Regions from separate parts of the Homo sapiens genome. Here all the other regions are linked to region 1. Evidence: promoter capture Hi-C in 16 types of primary human blood cells and fetal thymus (Javierre and others, 2016). All regions are on one chromosome and are shown on one strand. Each heading gives the region's core, a stretch centred on a gene start or on the middle of the fragment in contact. The rest is flanking DNA. Distances are from core to core; before and after follow the strand shown. Region 1 holds the start of MRPS23 (mitochondrial ribosomal protein S23). Region 2 overlaps AKAP1 (A-kinase anchoring protein 1). Region 3 overlaps AKAP1 (A-kinase anchoring protein 1). Region 4 has its middle 61 kb from the start of AKAP1.

The links. Contacts are between HindIII fragments. The CHiCAGO score rates a contact against its expected background, and 5 or more counts as called.
Region 2: a fragment that was not itself captured here is called in contact with the fragment with the promoter of MRPS23 in region 1 in 1 of 17 cell types (M1 macrophages); the score reaches 5.7 in M1 macrophages.
Region 3: a fragment that was not itself captured here is called in contact with the fragment with the promoter of MRPS23 in region 1 in 5 of 17 cell types (M0 macrophages, endothelial precursors, activated CD4 T cells and 2 more); the score reaches 7.0 in M0 macrophages.
Region 4: a contact is called between a fragment that was not itself captured here and the fragment with the promoter of MRPS23 in region 1, in 1 of 17 cell types (M1 macrophages). The highest score is 5.5, in M1 macrophages.

Annotation. Positions count from the first base shown.
Region 1 is chr17:57,847,207-57,852,221 of GRCh38, reverse strand. MRPS23 (mitochondrial ribosomal protein S23) reads left to right here and starts at 2,178. Exons shown (of 5, transcript NM_016070.4): 1 at 2,178-2,255; 2 at 2,812-2,982. The coding sequence starts at 2,212. RefSeq lists enhancers at 1,683-2,192, 1,868-2,197. The HindIII fragment of the contact is 6,704 bases long and covers 1-3,427 here.
Region 2 is chr17:57,091,596-57,096,610 of GRCh38, reverse strand. All of the region lies in intron 1 of AKAP1 (A-kinase anchoring protein 1), which reads right to left. Among named protein-coding and RNA genes, the nearest start is that of AKAP1, 8.9 kb to the right of the region's middle. RefSeq lists enhancers at 3,228-3,727, 4,650-5,015. The HindIII fragment of the contact is 4,020 bases long and covers 272-4,291 here.
Region 3 is chr17:57,119,732-57,124,746 of GRCh38, reverse strand. AKAP1 (A-kinase anchoring protein 1) reads right to left here. Exons shown (of 11, transcript NM_003488.4): 11 at 3,403-4,497. The coding sequence ends at 4,423. Among named protein-coding and RNA genes, the nearest start is that of AKAP1, 37 kb to the right of the region's middle. The HindIII fragment of the contact is 1,208 bases long and covers 1,318-2,525 here.
Region 4 is chr17:57,143,919-57,148,933 of GRCh38, reverse strand. No RefSeq gene overlaps it. Among named protein-coding and RNA genes, the nearest start is that of AKAP1, 61 kb to the right of the region's middle. The HindIII fragment of the contact is 1,113 bases long and covers 2,346-3,458 here.

The sequences.
Region 1 (5,015 bases), core at 929-3,428:
ACCAATATTCTGCTCTCAGTCACAGAAGCAGGCTGGAAAGGGAAACTTCAAAGGCTTGGAAGAGGAAGGGACCACCCCAAGATTAGCGAGAACATTTCTGCCTTGCAGTTCTTCCCCTATTGAGGGTTTGCGTCTTTGGTTCCCCTCCTTGATCTTGGAATAAACCCTTTAACTCTTTAGCTGCAGTGACTGCACTAACCTACAGTAGCAGTTCCTGGTGGGAGAAGAGAAGTGTGCCTGTAATCTGGGCTGGCAGATAGTGCTTGCTGGCTGGGACAGAATTAGAAAGTTGTTATGAGGCCTGGGAAGACTATATTTAGCTGGGAGCATGTTTACTCTCCCCAGAGCAAGGTCTTTTAGACCTCCTGAGGGCTGGGATACTAGAGCCTTTACACCTGGCCTGGGGCCAGAGCTGTGCTCTCTCTTCTCTGTTCCAGAGGGTCTGGAGGCAGCAGTGAAATCCACCTCAGGTTAGCCCTGGGCCTCAAATCACTGGATCCCTGGCGTGCGTGTGTGTGTGTGTGTGTGTGTGTGTGTGTGTGTGTGTTGTGGGGGGGGCGGGTGGGGAGCGGCGTTCTGCTGGACTCTTGAGCCTACCAGCCTCGAGCTTTAGGCATAGCTTAGGCGGCATTGTGAGGCACTGGAAAGGGCCCTGGCTGCCCCACCCCCCCAAGGCTGGCTCTATCAGTTGCTTATCAGACAAGTTATGTAACTTCCTGAGGCCTTGCTTTCTCATCTATAATGAGGATGTTAATAGCTACCTTATGGGAAGGTATGTGGATTCAGTAAGATAACACACACAAGCAGTAACTACTCATCAAACAGTCCCGTCCTCCCCTTCACCAGCCTCAGAGTGGGAGGACTCTAGGATGACTTGACTAGGCTCCCAGGAGACATTGTGTGTGATTCAAAACATTCATTGGATTAAAAGTTCAAATATGAATACAATCTCTTTACAAGTCAAACTCTGAAGCATGTGTAAAGGAAGAAAAAATTCTCCCTTGCCTGCCTGCAGTTTCACTCCGAGATATCCAATGTTCACAGCCTTGGGTGTCCTTCTGCAGAATTTCTATCCTCAAACACAAACATATATAGAGGTGTTTCTTTTTCCTTTTTTTTTTCTAACACGTTGAGATTCCACTAAACATGTTTCTTTGCAACTTCGTTTTTCATTTAAACATAAGTCATGTACCTTAACCTTGGTAAATACATGTGGATCTAGCTCATTCATTTTAATAGCTGCATAGGGTTCCAAAGAAAGTATGAACAATAATTTTCCAGCTATTTCTCATCTGATGGATTTTTTTTCCCACTACAAACAATGCTGCAACGATGATCCTTGCACAAACATCCTCATGAATTGATGCTTTAATTTCTAAGGGGTTCTTTCCCCGAAATATGATTACTGGGTCAAAGGGTATGCTACACACAGTTTATATTTTTTTACAGTTTAACACTGAGAGATGACTTTCTCCAGATTTTTTCGTTTCCCTCTCGGCGTCTGTTTGTTCCGGACACTTTCACTTTTCGAGTTCCAAGGAGGAGGTAGCCCGCGACACCGGCCGCGGGAAACACGAGTTGCAGCCAGCATCCTAGTTAGCGTGGATGCAGGTGGCACTCCGGGGACGAGGGGCTTAGTGGGGAGCACTACACAGCCAGAGGCGGAGGCCCGAGATCTAGCACGACGCTGGGCAAGTGACGGCCCCTCCCCGGCCTTGGTTTTCTTCTGCGTAGTCTGTGACTCTAAACAACATTAGGCTCAGCCTGGGCCTAGAGCTGGTGACCTCAAATCTCGGCCTTTGTTGGCTCCCCTAGGACTGTAGGCTGCGCTTCACCCCTGCTCTGCCCCACTACTTCTCCTCCGCGCGGCCCCACCTTTTCAGAGGAGTTGGCTCAACAAGGCGAGAGAGAGTAAAGCAACCATCATGATGAATCCCTCCCACAGCTCGGTCATTTATTACTTCTGTCCGGCTTTGGCTCGCTCCTGCCCTTTTGGCTCGGCTATCGAGTGCTCCTGCCTGAACCTGGCAAGTAACCTCGGAGCGCGCCCGTTCGGCCTATCACTTGCTTCTGCCTGCGCCGCTCTCCCGCAGGGGCTGCGGTGAAAGCCCAGCGATCCTTGGCTCGGCCAGCAACTTATGCGCCCTTTACCTGGAGCAGCCGCTTCCGGTTCCGGTAGCAGCTAGTCACGCTCGGTACCAGGCGCAGATCATGGCAGGCAGCCGGCTGGAAACCGTAGGGAGCATCTTCTCTCGGTGTGTGCTCCCAGCCGTGGTGGGCTGAGGGTGCCTCCCCCAGGCTGGGGTTCTCAGCCGGTCACGCTCTTCCTTGGAGCGGACCTGAGCAGGGCGAGGCGTATTGCAGGGTGCGGGGGCTGAGCTGGGTGAGGCCCTCTCATGTTTTCTCCTGGCTCCGAATAGTTGTGCCTGAGGATGCCTCTCCTTGAATTTATGTGTCATGTTAAAGATTATTGCAGCTGCCTCTCCCCGAGTGGAGGTCTCTAGGAAGAGGAAGGGAGGAAGAGCCTGATGGGCCTTCCTTATCAGGTCATGCAAGACCGCTCTTTGCATTTTTCCGTGACCGAACGTGGGTGGGACGCACAAAAGAAGATAGAGGGATTTAACTCTCCTGAGCGTTGTTAAGTTTGGTTTGGGATGTGGACAGATCTTCTCTGTAGGTGGGGAGCAGTCCTTCCCCGTTCTGTGTTGCAGACCGCATAATACCTTTAATGTCCCAAACTGTGCTAGACTGATTCAGGGGCTTTGGCAGGCTACTGCAAGTGACCCAGTTTCGTTCTGTTCCCTCCCTAAGGACTCGGGACCTGGTTCGGGCCGGGGTGCTGAAGGAGAAGCCCCTGTGGTTTGACGTATATGACGCCTTTCCCCCGCTGAGGGAGCCCGTCTTCCAAAGGCCTCGAGTGCGATATGGCAAAGCCAAAGCTCCCATCCAAGACATCTGGTACCACGAGGATCGGATTAGAGCGTGAGTGCTCAGCCCTGTAGTGGACAGGAGGCAACAGAACTTCAGAAGGGAAGGTTTCGGTAGCAGTCTGGGAATTCAAACATGAAATTGAGTCAGGGGTTTGCCCTGTGGAGAAGGCTTATCTAGCCAAATTAGGGAGGCAGCACCCCTTCCTCATAGTGAAACTGAAGTTCTGAAAAGTGGAATCTGGAGCCCAGCAACCGAAAGATCATTGCAATTATAGCCGCATGTTTCTGGGCATCTGCTTTGGGCCAGGCACTGTACTAAGCTCTTTGCAAGCATTATCTCATTCTCTAAAGGCCTTACTCTAACTTGTAAGGAAGGCATTCTTGTTTCCATTTTATTCAAGGAGACTGCGAAGCTCAAGGAAATTAGCTAACTTCTTGTAATTACTAAATATATAGGAGGGTGGCAGATCTGGGAATCACATCTCTGACTCCAAGCTTATGGTGATCATTATGCCGGCCTTCTCCACGAGTGGAGATAGGAGGAACGTGGTCTGTGGATCTAGTAGTCCGGCTCTTTGAAGCCACTCAGATGAAAGGATGCTTGAAAGTCTAAGAGAGGCCGGGTGCGGTGGCTCACGCCTGTAATCCCAACACTTTGGGAGGCCAAGGCGGGCGGATCACCTGAAGTCAGGAGTTCGAGACCAGTCAGACCAACATGGTGAAACCCCGTCTCTACTAAAAATACAAAAATTAGCCGGGCATGGTGGTGGGTGCTTGTAGTCCCAGCTACTCGGAAGGCTGAGACAGGAGAATTGCTTGAACCTGGGAGGTGGAGGTTGCAGTGAGCCGAGATCCCACCACTGCACTCCAGCCTGGGCGACAGAGAGAGACAATCACTAGGAATTTGAAGGAAAATCATGTGTTCTTTATTTTTTTTTAGCATCCCTTTTCTCTTTTTTTTTCTTTTTCTTAAGCTCAGTGGCAAGAATACTTCCTCTTTTATTATAAAAGCAACACATGCTACTTGTAGAAAATTTAGATACACAAAGAAAGCATAAAAAGAAATCACAGGCTGGATGTGGTGGCTTGTGCCTGTAATCCTAGTGCTTTGGGAGGCATAAGGGAGGATAGCTTGTGCCCAGGAGTTTGAGACCACCCTGGGCAACATAGCAGGACTTGTCTCTACCAAAAAAAAAGTAGTTGTCTTAGTTTACACTCTGATTAGCAGTTTCTGAGAGTTCTTACTTTATCCTTGTCAGTATTGATAATGATTATTTAAGAATTTTTTTTTTCTGGGCCAGGCACGGTGGCCCACGCCTGTAATCCTGGCACTTTGGGAGGCTGAGGTGGGCAGATTGCCTGAGCTCAGGAGTTCGAGACCACCTTGGGCAATATGGTGAAACCCTGTCTTGACTAAAATACCAAAAATTAGCCGGGCTTGGTGGTGGGCACCTGTAGTCCCAGCTACTTTGGATGCTGAGGTGGGAGAATCGCTTGAAACTAGAAGGTGGAGGTTGCAGTGAGCTGAGAGTGCACCACTGCACTCCAGCCTGGGCAACAGAGGGAGACCCTGTCTCCAAAAAAAAAAAAAGTTTTGTTTTTTTCTGATCTAAGTATTTTTTTTTTTTTCGAGATGGAGTCTCACTCTGTCTCCCAGGCTGGAGTGCAGTGGCGCAATCTCGGCTCACTGCAAACTCTGCCTTCCGGGTTCATGCCATTCTCCTGCCTCAGCCTCCTGAGTAGCTGGGACTACAGGCGCCCACCACCACAGCTGGCTAATTTTTTGTATTTTTAGTAGAGACAGGGTTTCACCGTGTTAGCCAGGATGGTCTCAATCTCCTGACCTCGTGATCCGCCTGCCTCGGCCTCCCAAAGTGCTGGGATTACAGGCGTGAGCCACCGCGCCCGGCCTCTTTATTCTCTTTTTTTCCAAAACTTAAATAGTCACAGAAAATGTGCTCCTAATGGTTGCCTAGGAACATTCTTTTTTTTTTTTTTTGAGATGGAGTCTCGCTCTGCCACCCAGGCTGGAGTGCAGTGGTGTAATTTCAGCCCCATGCAACCTCCACCTCCCGGGTTCAAGCT
Region 2 (5,015 bases), core at 1,032-3,531, 760 kb after region 1:
TTACCTTCATCCTCAGGGGCCTGTGTAAGTCACAGTAAGCTATGACTTCATGTGGGTACCCTAGAGATCCCAAATTAGCTCACAGTGGGGTTGTGAGGTCCTGTCTAGGACTGTCCCCCACCCTCCATTGTGATGGCCCACAGAGAAGCCAGGGGGGCCAGCACCACCAGACCAGCACACTTTGTGGGTGCTTCTGCCCTTCCACGTAGAGCAGCTGTCAGGAACTCGGGACACTTTCCCAGCCCAATTCACAGAAGGAAGGCCAGAAGCTTAACCCAGTAGTGTCTGAGTACCTGCTTGGCAAAGCCTTCTACGGCCAAAATGAAAACCCTGAATCCACTACCAGGTGCTCTAGGTAAGACAAGACAAGCCAAAAGCCAGAAATACCATCTCTGGACATGGCCTCAAAGTAAGAGCTCCGCCAGCCCAACTAAAAGTTAAACCAACTCCTGCTCTGGAAAACTTAGTACCCGAGGTTGAACTGCCCAGTCTCTTTCCTGCTCTGCTGGCCAAATCCATGGCAGGTCCAAGTCACATGCCTCTTTTCGTGAAGGAAAAATCATCAGCACCTCCTACAAAGGTCTTCCTAATCACTTCATTTTGGGGGTAGGGGTGTGGATTTTAAAACTTTGAAGACTATGTCACACTCACCTTGCCCCTCACCTCTGGCCTTGACAACCATCTTGCTTTACAAGTGAATTCCGCCAGGTTTCTAAAGATGGTCACAACACAGGTGCCAGGAATGCCTTCCTGGGTACATGGAGTTCCCGCCCACGACCACAGAAGACATTACACAAAACTGCCCAAAAAGTATGAAATGGCAATCTGACAACAACCTGACTTAAAAGCCAGTAAAGACATCAGAAAAGATGTTGGTGTGCAGCAAGAAACCCTTCGCAGCACCTCACATGGGCAAAACCAAAGAGGTAAGACCCTGATCTTCCTAATGGCAGACAGTGAACTACGACCACCCCAGAAATCACATAAAAGCATAGAAGGTAATTTCTATTCAACAAATAATTACTGGCACTCACAGAGAAAAGCATGGTGGGACACAAATTAATCAGGCAAGGCACTGCCCTCGAGGCACTTTCAGTCTTGGCGGGGAGTAGTGGAGGGCAGAAGAAAAAAAAAAAAAAAAAAAAAGCCCAAACAGGCCACCACGGTAGCTCACGCCTACAATCCCCAACACTTCGGGAGGATTGCTTGAGGCCAGGAGCTCAAGACCAGCCTGGGCAATATAGTGAGACCTTGTATCTACAAAAAAAAAATTTTTTTTTAATTACCCAGGCATAGTGGCGCACACCTGTAGTCCCAACTACTCGAGAGGCTGAGGTGGGAGAATTGCTTGAACCCAGGAGGCAGAGGTTGCAGTGAGCCGAGATCGCACCACTGCACTCCAACCTGGGCAACAGAGTGACACCTTGTCTCAAAAAACAAGCAATGACCTTTTCTCCAGTGGGCCTGTTACTGCCACTCTCTGCTACTGACCAACTGAAAGTTTTGTCCATAGGACATGGAAGTGCCCTGTTAGGGGTGAAGGAGGAACAGAAAATGGGGTGCCAGTGTCCTCAGACTAGAATGTTCTAGTATCTTGGGGTAGGAATGAGAGAATATAAGCCTGAATGCCAGCATTATGGGAGCCAAGGAGAGTTGGGATGCCCCATTCAATATATAGACTTTCATTCAAGACCCATCTTCAGCCAGGCACGATGGCTCACACCTGTAATCCCAACACTTTGGGAAGTTGGAAGATTACTTGAGCCCAGGAGTTCGAGACTAGCCTGGGCAATGTGGTGAGACCTCATCTCTACAAAAAAAAATTTAAAAGAATTAGTCGGGCATAGTAGTACATGCCTCTTGTCCCAGCTACTGAGCAGGCTGAGGTGGGAGGATCACTTGAGCCCAGGAAATCAAGGCTGCAGTGAGCTATGATGGCATTACTGCACTCCAGCCTGGGGGACAGTGAGACCTGTCTTTAAAAAAAAAAAAAAAAAAAAAAAGTTGGGGGGGACCCATTTTCACCACTCCCTGGTACCCAAATCCAGATCGCCACATTTATAACTTCTCTAAAAAGTGAAGCCAGACCTTCTGCTGGCCTGGCCTGGCGGAAGGGCTCCACAGGCCTAGTTGTCTGCTGACTTCAGCCACCCAACTGAAGGCCCAATCCATGCCTTCAAAGGTGCCTGTCCCTGCATGGATCGGCTGGCTTCTTGTGGGCCACAAACCACGCACACCTTCTCAGCAAGCTACTGAACGATGGGCTCCCCCAAGACAAGGAAATCAACCAAGAAAGGAGGGGCACTGGATCCAGAAACGAGACAAGAGAAGGGGAGAGGGAATTCCAAGGCTGAAGGGGAAGCAGAGCCAGGGAAAAGGGATGCGCCCAGGAGAAACGTGGAACCGTTGCGAGTACCTGGTATGTGGAGCCACAGTGAGAGCCACTTTCCCCCAATGACAGGCATTCCACAGCAATGGTGGAGGCTGCGAGGTGGTCAGGGAACTGGTGAGAGAGACAGAAAATTAAGCAAAAGAAACTAAGGAAATTAACTAGGAGAGGAGAAGAAGAAAATGAAGGAAAAGAAGAAATATGGGAAACTAAAAACCTTGCAGCCATAAACAAGGTTCATATTATAATAATGTATATTCTGAAGATCAACTTGACCAAAACTTGGGCTATCTCTACACTGGGATGATGAGGGAAGAAAAAAGCATAGGAACGAGCTAAATCCTATCTCCCACAGCAGAAAAACAAATCAGATAATAATCCTTAAAAAGAAAGAAAATAATACTACTGACAATGGTGGGGACAGCTGGAAGAATTGAAAGTAATGGGGGTGGGGGGCAGTGGGCAAAGGACTGTCCTTTCAAGCCTTGTACACAGTCAAAAGCCAAATCCTTTCTACAAGTAATGTTTTGATAGAAAACACGTTATTAAGATACATACAAGTAGCAATGCATGCTCTATTACCACACAGCTTTATGTTTCTTATTAACCATCCTAAATTTGCATTAATGTCAACTCATCTGTGTACAAACTTGTAAGGCCTTATTTTCCTATAATAATTGATGCCAATTTTGCTTCAGAGACCCCCAGCTGCCCAGCTGACATAATAGTAATATCAAAAAGAGAGCATGCTTATTGACAGGTTAGATCCCTCTGGAAGCAAGGCATTGAGGGCTAGCCAGCATCAGATGGCTGGACCTCTCAGGGCCAGTCATTTAACAAAGAGTTTAACACGCACTGTGAGCCAAGTTCGCTGGGCACATAAGGCAAAGAGATCCCTCAGGAAGCAAAGGTGGAAGGAAGGGTAGAGAGTCAAATTACAGGTAAGATACTGCAAAGATTCCGCGACTTAAATATAAAGACCTGCAGCCTCTCTCAACTGATTGAGAGAACTGAGCCCTAAGGCTGCCCTTGCATGTGATGAATTACCTATATCCCTGTGCGTGTAGCAGGGCACCAGCTGGGAGAGTTGAGGAACGGTCACCTAGTCCTTTTCTGTGTGCTGTGGTTGAAATGAGAAAGGCTGGATGGAGCACTTGGAAGGGGAAGCTGCAGACAGAATGAGGCGGGAATGCCTCTTGGAAGAGGTGGCATCAGAACTGGAACACTTGAGAACTGTGCCAAGATCTGGGGGGAAGCAGGAGGAGAGCGGGGAGAAAGTTCCAGGCAGGAAGAACATGTGCCAAAGTCCTAAGGCAGGAACAGGCTTGGCTGACTCAAGAGGTAGCAAGAGGGGAGGTGAAGATGAGGCAGAGCATGGCTCTCAGAAAAAGGGCTCTCCAACATCACTGCGCGGAAGGCCAGTCGGACTCGCAAGAACCCCAAGGGACACGGTCCACCAAACTTTCTCCAGAGGGGAAAGCGATGTGCCTGAAGAGCCAAGGGGCTTTAGTTCTTAATTAATAAGCAGAAGCTGCTTCCAGACTTGATTCCTGAAACAGGATGCCTCTGTGGCTGGTAGCATGACAGGTACACTGTGTAGGTAAACAGGGGCTTGCTTTTACCTTTAAGTTCTCAGCGAATACACTTGCCAGGAAGCCCTGTGGCCACACCACACATTAGCCTTACAGAGCCACCACTAAGGGTAAGGGATAATAAGCCCCCCTTACTCTCAGGCTCCCTCAAAGGAACCTGTTCCAATAAGGCAGTCCAGCCCCAGGAGGCGGACACACACAGCCTACGTAAGCCCTTGCCACTTCTTTGAATCAGACTTTGCAAAAAACAACCTTGCTCTCCAGCCAACATAAACCATAGGCAACAGAGGGCCTTATAAGGCTTGAAGCTTTCTTAATCAGAAACAGTTAGATGGGCTGGAGTTAGCAGCTCCAAGTTAGAGGGAAGGAGGAACTGAAAAGGAGAGAAGAAAGGGTGGCCTAGGGAACCAGCAAGCTTGCTGGTCAAACTGCTTTTTCATCCCTCTTCAGCTTCTGTGTCATCACAGTAAAGAATTCTCACCGGGGGTCTATGGCCATGCCTCCTTTCATGTTTGCATTTTGGTTTAAGCCAGAGGAATCAGACTGCCCACCAATCCACACTATTAGAGAGTTTTTAAGTGTCCATTTAGTGGCCAGCCTTTAGGCTGGGCAACTTCACACAAAAATGAAGTTATGGGGCCAGGCACGGTGGCTCACACCTGTAATCTCAGCACTTTGGGAGACCAACATGGAATGATCACTTGAGCCTAGGAGTCTTGAAATGGGTCTGGGCAAGGTGATGAGACCCCATCACTACAAAAAAAATTTTTTTAACTAGCCAGGCATCATGATGTGCACCTATAGTCCCGGGTACTTGGGAGGCTGAGGCAGGAGGATCCCTTGAACCCAGGAATTCAAGGCAGCAGTGAGCTATGATCGAGCCACTGTACTCTAGCCTGGGTGACAAAGCAAGACCTCATCTCTAAATAAATAAATAAATAAATAAATAATGTTTTTAATGGGGTTATGTGGTTTCCTGAAAAATTGCCTGCTGGGGCAACAAGGGGTCCTCACTCCCCAGGCAGCAGTCTGAC
Region 3 (5,015 bases), core at 672-3,171, 730 kb after region 1:
AAGACCAGCCTGGGCAACATGGCAAGACCTCATCTCTACAAAAACAATGAAAAAACAAATTAGTTCGGTGTGGTGGCATGCGCCTGTGCTCCCAGCTGCTCAGGAGGCTGAGGAGGGAGGATTGCTTGAGTCAGGGAGTTCGAGGCTGCAATGAGCTGACTGCACCACTGCACTCCAGTCTGGGCAGCAGATCGAGACCCTGTATTTAAAAAAAAAAAAAAAACCAGGGAAGGAGAGGGCGAGAAAGGAAAACAATAAATTCAAATATTTTACACACCCAACTTCATAGATTATATAAAACTTTATACCAACTCAATAGCGTGCATTATTTTCAAATACCAATAGAATATTTAGTATGGCCCCCTTCCCTGCAAAATGATTCTAAAGTTCATCTGGAAAAATAAATGTGCAAAAGGACATACAACTTTTTGAATAAGGAAGAACATAAATAAGGCTGTCAGTATCAGTGTGATAGTGATCAATGGAATAGTCCAGGCCTACACTGTCCAACGTGATAGCCACAAGCCACACGTGGCTATCATGCCCTTGAAATGTGGCCGGCCTGAACAGAGATATGCTGAAGTGTCAAATGCACACTGGACTTAGTAGGAAAAACACTGTAAAACAACTCCTTAATGTTTCATATCCATTACATGCTGAAATGATATGACTTAAAGTATTATGAAAATTAATTTCATCTGTTTCTTTGCACTTTTTAACTGTGGCTCCTAGAAAGTTTTAAATTACAGATGTGGCTCACATATTTCTATTGGCCACTGCTGGTCTAGGAACAGACCCAGATTTTCCATCCACATCCTTTATGATATTTCCCAATGGAAACTTAGAGATTTGTCTTGGGTTTTTTCTTTGTTTTGATTTTTTGAGACAGTCTGGCTCTGTCACCCAGGCTGGAGTCCAGTGGTGTGATCTCAGCTCACTGCAACCTCCGCCTTCTAGGTTCCAGCGATTCTCCTGTCTCAGCTTCCCAAGTAGCTGGGATTACAGGTGCGTGCCACCATGTCATTTTTCTTGTAGAGATGGGGTTTTTGCTATGTTGGCCTGGCTGGTCTCGAACTCCTGGCCTCAAGTGATCCACCCAATTCAGCCTCCTGAAATGCTGGGATTACAGGCGCGATCCACCGTGCCTGGCCAGTTTTCCTTGTTTTACGTTATCACGGATTCAAAACGTCCACTCTCTGGCCCTAGCTGCTGCAGGTGTCTCTTGGCTTTATGTTACTTAAGATTTAAATTTTCCATAAAAGCAAAATCATTGATCTCTCTTGTCATGGTATCTTTCCCACTCTAAGTTCCAAAGCTTTTCCATGGACTGATCATTTAATCACTGTGGCATTTATTTGGGGATGTGGACTGGGGCAAGATGAATCCACGCTGCTTTAGGGGTGGTGGTGAAGAGCACCTGGCCTGGGGTAGCAGCCTGGTTTTTAGTTTCAGCTCTGCTCTATCCACGAACCACTTTCCAAAATCACCATCTTCTACCTCTTGGGTCTGCTCATCTACGGAGTCCCTGCCTCCCTGGGTTGTGTCAAGGACTCAGTGTTACCTGTAAAAGAGACAGCACCTGACACAGTAAGCACTCCCTAACTCTAGCTACAACTCTCATTTTATCTTAGAACTGACATTAGTTATCGTCTGACAGATGTTGATGTCTACAAGTGGCATACCTGAAGTTGTACAAGGTATAGCAGTAACCCTAAAACCCAGCCTCCATGGTGATGCCCCAGAGACCAGAGGGGCAGTACTGACACCAATGCCTATAATGAGAACAGGGTGGAAGCTCTAGCCTCCTGCATCCAGCATTCCACCCCTCTCCCCTACACCCTGGGCAGATTGCCAGATCTCTTGCCAGCACTGGCTTCTCCCGTGAGTTTCCAATTCACACCAAGACATCCCCTGGATGCCCCACAGGTAATTAAAAGAGGGCGTCTCAAATGCACTTGCCCGGGCAGCTGACTTGCAGAGGGATGGAGCGAGGACCTTCATAAATCTGCTCCTCCTTAAGAACAATGAGATTTCTGGCAAAATGGTTAAAAGTCAAGTTTTTCAGAACTCTGGAAATTAATCAAAGGCAACAATCTGAGAAGCATTTATTCGAGGAGTACAAGTCCTTCACCAGCCTCCAACTTGCTCTTCCTCCAGCATTCCAAACCGAGTTTAATGGAGGCACCCTTGCAGGGTAGGACTCTAAGGCGTGGGAGTCCCGGGTAGCAGCCCATCCCACTCATCAAAGCCCAAGGGGCTTTATCTGAGGATCCTGACTTCATCACGTCTTGTCTGTCCCAGGCTCCATCCCAGGGGAATCCCTTTTTTCTCATGTCTACACCTCCACCTCACCCACCCTTCTCCCTGCACCAGAAGCATGTTTTAATGTTTGAAACCCCTCAATGGTTCCCTGGAGATAAAAGCTAAATCTGCACACCAGGCTCTGTGAGCATTCCCTAAGTTAGTCGGAAGGCTTCCGTAGACCTTTTCATGCTCCAGCAATGCTGGATTATAGAGGAAAAGCTTAGACCTGGGTGTATGGTGACCTGGCCAAAGTCACACCCAATTCCTGCCAGGACTTAAAGCCAATAGTGGCTAAGGAACTGCAGGGGAGCTCCCTGGGACCAAGCACTGTAGAAGCAGAGGGCATTTCCATGATTAAATTGCCTTATGAGGTTATCTCATCTTACAGATGAGGGAAACAGAGGCTGTTAACCACACAGGCGAGAACCTGGATGGAGGGGAAGATGGGCACCTGACAATGGCCACAGCTCAGGCTTGGCCAGGACAGAGACGGAAAGAACAAGCCAGCTGGGTTGGAACTGGGAGGAGCTCCCAGGAGTGGGTGTGCGGTGGGAGGATATCTCCAATCAGAATGACCCTCAGGCTACGTCAGCTCTCTAAAAACTAGAGCTCAAGCTCAACAGCCCTGCAGCCAGAGGCCTCAAACGTAGGGGGCAGGGGCGGGGCACTGGGGTAGGCCTGGGCTGCAGTGGCCAGCCTTCTTTAAGAGCAGGGGCTATTAAATTGAGGCAGTATCTCATCCCATAACTTACATGTATTTTTTACATCATTCTTATCACTACAGTAAATTAAATAACTTCACGAATCTATTAAGAATGACAACCAAAGAAGGCACAACCCGTTTTGGAAGCCAGTGCTTTAAACTGAGTCTGGCCAGTTAACATGCAGTGAAGAAGTCGGAGGACGCTTGGCTGCCACCTGGTGGGACAAGGAGAGAGAGGAAAAGGCCAGATAGAAATTTCTGGCCAAATTGTCTTCAAAAAACCATGGGTCTCCTGCAGAGGCAGTTGTGTGGGGCCTGTGATCCAGCTCGCCACACTCACCACCCCCCCCCCGCCAATTCTTCACCACTGGAAAAAAATGGACTCAAAGCTGCAGTTCATACAATTGAAGATTTATGTAAGTTACTTACTTATTTTTAAACTGCACAATGCTGAAGCCAGTCTAAAAAAGAATCAAACACACCACTGCAAGTTAATTCAATGAGTTACTTTTTTTTTTTTTTAAACAGATTTGTACAGCAAAAAGTTCCCAGATCACAGTCTCTACCATACAGTCACCTGTCCAGTGTGCAGGAAGCCACAGGGGCCCTGGCCAGAGGGGCCAAGAGCAGAAGCTGCACTGCAGAGTTTACTTCTACCTACAGGTGACATGTGGCTGGAAGAATCTTGAGTTCCCTTTGTTCTCCAGTGTATCTTGTACAAAATATTACATTTGTTTAAACACATATTTACAGAGTTTGCACAAATAGAAAATGGTTACAAATTACAACCAGGCTTGGCAGGATACCAGTTCCCCTCCCCACTGACCAAGGTCAGATGTGATGACCATTTCATATTTACAGTTGCAATTTAAAAAGTCTGTGTTTAGAGACCTAAATGAAGTTTATAAAAACTGGTTAAATATCATCAACTCATTTATGTAAGCTGTACAAGTAGTGGATACCAATTAGTCAGTTCATGTCTTGCTCCCTGAAGAAAGATTTTGAAGTAAAAGAAACCCTCTCAAGCAAGCAACATACATCCCTGGCCTGTCTGCCAGTTTGTTTGGTTTTTGCCGGGGAAGGAGATAGAAGGAAGAAGAGGGGAATGGAACAGGGGGAATAGGACAATCTGGTTGAAACTGTTTCTATTCCTTTTTTTTTTTTTTTTTAAACAGCTGAGAACCAGCATAAGCCAGCTGGCTTGTTAAACACTATCCTTTGGCTTTGCGAAGAGAACCCATAGTTCCATCCTTTTTTCTCAGAGACGAAATGTCTTCTCAATAGGACTACAGTATGGAGAAAGAAAGGACTTTCTGGAGAGGACAATGTTTGTTATTCCGATGTTCATCTTTGACTTGAGTGCCAAGCCCAATTTCAACAGTGCAAAAAAAGACTCTCAGGAAGCAGCATGGGGGTCAAAGGCTTGTGTAGTAGCTGTCTACCCACTGGGCAAGGCCTCGCTCCACCAGGGACCGGTTTATCAACACCACCTAGAAAAGAAAGTTCCCTTAAAGCTTTTGTCCATGGCATCCTGGGGCCATCTCCCTAGCCAACATGAGTTCTCCCCTCCCCGGTTGCCACTGCAGGCAACAGATGTATGAGAGTAACAGTGTAGGCCAGACGCAGTGGCTCATGCCTGTAATCCTAGCATTTTGGGAGGCTGAGGCAGGTGGATCACCTGAGGTCAGGAGTTCGAGACCAGCCTGGCCAACATGGTGAAACCCCGTCTCTATTAAACATACAAAAATTAGCCAGGTGTGGTGGCAGGCACCTGTAATCCCAGTTACTGAGGCTGAAGCAGAATCGCTTGAACCCCGGAGGCGGAGGTTACAGTGAGCCAAGATCACGCCACTGCACTCCAGCCTGGATAACAAGAGCAAGACTGTCTCAAAAAAAAAAAAAAAAAAAAGAGTAACAGGGTGGGGGACATGGCTTATGCTCTAGCCAACAGGAACATTTATTTAAGTATTCTGTTGGCTGCTGTGGCATAAGGATAGGGTTTTTTTGT
Region 4 (5,015 bases), core at 1,653-4,152, 700 kb after region 1:
CATACCCCAGCCAAGAGAAATGGGTGCATATATCCACCAAAAAAAAGAGTGTCCAAGAATGTTGACAGCATTTTCCTCCTAATAGCCCCAAACTGGATGCAACCCAAATGCCCATTTCAGCAAGAGAATGGGGAATATATTGCAGCATAATCACGTAATGGAATTCTACTCAACAATAAAAAGAATAAACCACTGCCATATGCAAAAACATAGGTGATTTCACAGACATTATGTTCAGAGAAAGATACCAAGCACAAAAGAATATACACTGTATTCTTCCATTTATAGGAAATCCAAGAACAGGTAAAACCAATCATTAGGTGATAGAACCCATAACGGCACTGACCTCTTCGGGGGTACTGACTTTGAAGGGGGGTGAGAGAAACTTCTAGGTGCTGTAAATATCCTGATGTCGGTAGTGGTTATGGAGGTATATACATATATAAAAAGCAAGTGGAACACCTAAGATCAGTGCACTTTCCCCATACTTCGTGCATTATACCTCAATGAAAACTAAAAAATAATTATATTCTATAGGGAAAAACTCTCTCCAGCCACATTTTTCCTCAGCTGTCACACCACAGCAATCAACACAGAATTTTTATGACCAAAGGTATGTGTGTTTCTTCCCCACACACCAAGCAGCGGACCCCAGGGGGGTGTCCTCCAATTCAGTTCAGACACTACGATAGCGTCAGCTCCCACAGGCTGAGGGCTTAGTCCCCGTGACTGCCCTCCAGCACACACCAGTGGCAAGTCCAGGCCTCTGAAACTTCTGACTGATTGGCTTCACAATTGCCCCCACCACCCTCTTTGTGTTCAATTAATTTGCTGGAGCAGCTCACAGAACTCAGGGGAACACTCGCATTTACCAGTTCATTATGAGGAATATCGCAGCCAGGCACAGTGGCTCACGCCTGTAATCCAAGCACGTTGGGAGGCCAAGGTGGGCAGATCACTCGAGGCCAGGAGTTCGAGACCAGCCTGGCCAACATGGTGAAACCTCGTCTCTGCAAAAAATACAAAAATTAGCCAGGCGTGATGGCGCATGCCTGTAATCGCAGCTACTCAAGAGGCTGAGGTGGGAGGATGGCTTTAGCCCGGGAGGTAGAGGTTGCAGTGAGCCAAGATCACACCACTGCACTCCGGCCTGGGCACAGAGCAAGACTCTGTCTCCAAAAAAGGATATTGCAAAGGATACAGATGAAGAGATGCATAGGGTATAGGAGAAAGGGCGTGGAGCTTCCATCCCCTCCCTGGGATACCAGGCTTCACACGTTCAGCTATCCGGGAGCTCCCCCAACCCAGTCCTCTTGGGTATTTATGGAAGTTTCAAAGCATTTTCCCCCCAGGGTACAGGGTGGGACCCTCTCTGAAGAAAGCCTTAAGACCCACAATCAGAAAGGCAGGGGAAGTTGAGGCTGGGTATAGTGGTTCATACCAGTGATCCCAACACTTTGTGAGGCTGAGGCGGGCGGATCACCTGAGATCAAGAGTTCAAGACTAGACTGGCCAACATGGTGAAACTGTGTCTCTACTAAAAATACAAAAATTAGCTAGCCATGGTGGTGGGCACCTGTAATTCCAGCTACTCAGGAGGCTGAGGCAGGAGAATTACTTGAACCCAGGAGGCAGAGGTTGGAGTGAGCTGAGATTGCGCCACTACACTCCAGCCTGGGTGACAAAGCGAGACTCCATCTCAATAAAAAAAGAAAATGAGAGTCCTATCTTGAGTTAGGTGAATGGAGGGCAAGAGAGAGATTCTGTTTCCTGAAGCCTGCCCCTGAGGCCTAATACACCCAACATTATAAGTAAAGGCTGTAACAGGGGCTATGGGAGATATGAAGCAGAAGCCGTGGACAACAGCCCATCTATATCATAACACCACGTATTCCATTACCGGGTTCTACTGTGTATGTGAGCTGGGAATGAATAAATCCAGTAACTGTCTTGGGAAAAGCACATTTATATTGCATCTTATTTGTTTTTATAATAATGGCCTTGATTTTAAACATGCACACATTTGAAGCACACCACAATTTTTGCAATCCGTTTTGACATTTCTCCATTGTTTAATAAACCAAAGCTTAAAGAAAGGACAATGTTCTGGCCCTCTCTGAACCTCCAGGAGGCCCCATCATGAACATAGCCACAGGATGGGCAGAGACAGGGAGGAGTCCAGAGGGGCTGTGTTCTCCACAAGACACAGCCTGGAGGTGGGGTGGGGCTTCGCCAAGTGCCAGCCCTCGGGGGCACCGATGAGGCAGAAGATGGGCTGGGGCACCCAGTCTTGGCTTGAGCCCTCTCTGCCTGCTGCTCAGAAGGAACCTGCAGCAACCCAAGCTTTCTAAAGCCCAGGCTGTGCCATTCTTTTTCATAGCTGTCAGGGCGGTATAAAGCACATTGCCTGGGCCAAGGTGCTTTTGTCCCCCTGGAAAAGAGGGCTGGAAGCTGGAAGACAGCCAGGGAACTGCCCAAAGGGGTAGTCAGGGCCAGCTTCCTGGGCATCTGTCCTGTGCAGTCACACAGGGCCTCATACTGAGAAGGGCTCCACAGTTGGTTAATACTCTGCCGTCACAGTCTTAACACTTTTTTTTTTTTTTTTTTTGAGACGGAGTTTCACTCTTGTTGCCCAGGCTGGAGTGCAATGGCGCGATCTTGGCTCACTGAAACCTCCAACTCTCGGGTTCAAGCGATTCTTCTGCCTCAGCCTCCTGAGTAGCTGGGATTACAGGCATGTGCCACCACACCTGGCTAAGTTTTGTATTTTTAGTAGAGACGGGGTTTCGCCATGTTGACCAGGCTGGTCTTGAACTCTTGACCTCAGGTGATCCACCTGCCTTGGCCTCTCAAAGTGCTAGGATTACAGGCGTGAGCCACCATGCCCGGCCTACATTATTTTTATTTTTAATTTTTTAGTTTTTTATATTTAAAAGATAGAGACGGAGGTCTCATTATGTTACCCAGGCTGGTCTTGAACTCCTGGGCTCAAGCGATCCTCCCACCTCAGCATCCCAAACTGCTTCAGCCACTGCACCCAGCAGTCTTAAAGTCTTAATCTTTGTTGAACAAGAGGCCCTGCAGTTTCATTCCCCTCCCACTCCCCACAAACGTAATGGTCAGTCCTGGAGTAGCAGACTGTGGCATTAATAGCCTATGTCTGGAGTCGGGGTTCTATTCCCAGCTCTGCCCCTTGCTGCCGGGGCATCTTGGTCAAGCCATTTAAGCTCCATGCCTCAGTGCCCTATCTGTAATATGGGGGTAACAGCTATACCCGTTCAGAAGATGTTAAGAGAATCAAATCAGCCTTCAGCTCCCAGCTTGGCACATTACAAAGTACTCAATGAAGCTCGGTGATTAGCGCTAAGATGATTGAGGGCGGATTACAGAGGCAGTACTCTTGCCTGGACCTGCCTCAGAAATGCCTTTTCTAAAGGCAGGAGCAAAAGAAAGAAGCTTTGGGATTAACTCTTCCAAAATAGCAAATGTTCTCTCTTCAGCATTAGGGCTAACACCAGTGGCATTATTACACCCCAGGAAAAATGTGTCCTCATCAAGTCACAAAAGCCTGGTTTCAACCCACAGAGGGAACAACAACAAAAACGTCTGAAATGCTGAAAAAGCCAAGAGCGTCGGGTACACGTTATCCAGCCCATCTTTGATTTGGGAGTTCACTGAAGCATGACTGATGCATGGTTATCTTGGGTCCTATATGTCTCTTCCGTAAATAGACTTTTGTTACAAGAAAAAAAATGGACTGACTTGGAAAAACAGAAAGAAACACAAGGAGCAGCGAGACTTTTTCCCTTCTCACAAAATGGACAGGTCTGAGAACTCCCAGGATCCTGGCTGTTCACAGATCAATTAACCTCCTGTAGCCTCAGTTTCTGCCCTTGTAAATGGGGAGTATGCAGGAGTGATGAGGAACACAGATTCTGGAGACAGACTCCCGGGGGCATCTTAACAATCTCACTTACCGGTTGTGTGGCCTGGGACACACACTAGGCTTCTGTGCTTCTGCTTCTACCTCCTGTAGAAGCTACAGTACCTACCTCCTGGGGTCGTTGGGAGGGTGAAGCAGGATAATATACATAAAGCGTAAGGAATGGTGCCTGGCCCAGAGTAAGTCCGCAATAAATGTTAGCTGCAGACCATGAACCTAAATCCCCCAGCTGCAGTTGTGCTGAATAATGGGAGAAGTAGTCGTAGCAGTTGTTGCTATTGTTATTTAAACTGCCGCAGGACCTCTGATCTTGTGACTTCAGGTTCCTTCTGCATATGCCTCCAAAATGTAGGAGACCCTTAAGGAGCATCAGCGATTGGTCAAGGCCTAGGGATAAGCTAAACTCAGATGAGATCTTCCCAACCTTCCCCACCCAGAGGACCATGATCATAGGCCTCAGAGTCATTTTAATGTCAGAGAAGAAAAGAACCAGCTGGGCGCAGTGGCTCACGCCTATAATCCCAACACTTTGGGAGTACGAGGCAGGCAGATTGCTTGAGCCCAGGAGTTCAAAACTAGCCTGAGTAACATGGCAAAGCCCTGTCTCTACTGAAAAAAAAAATGCAAAAATTAGACAGGCATGGTGGCACATGCCTGTAGTCCCAGTTACTCAGGAGGCTTAGGTGGGAGGATCACCTGAGCCCAGGAGGTCGAGGCTGCAGTGAGCCACTGCACTGCAGCCTGGGACACAGAGTGAGACTCAATCTCAAAAAAAAAAAAAAAAAAAAAAGAATCTTGTAGGTCAGCACGTCCACATTCCTCATTTATAGATGAGGAACTAAAGCTCAGAGAAGGCAAGTGACCTGCTCAAGGTCACACAGAACAGGAGCTGAGCTAGGAAGACAGCTCAGAGTTCATGACTTTGCACATCCGTTCCCTTCCTGTTCCCGCTTACAGCTTATTCTGTTGGAGTCCCTGGCCCCTCACAAGGTCCCCCGACCTCTCTATCTCCCAGGTGAGCATCTGTCAGGTTATGGACTCATCTAATTATTGGCCACATCCTACTAGAGAC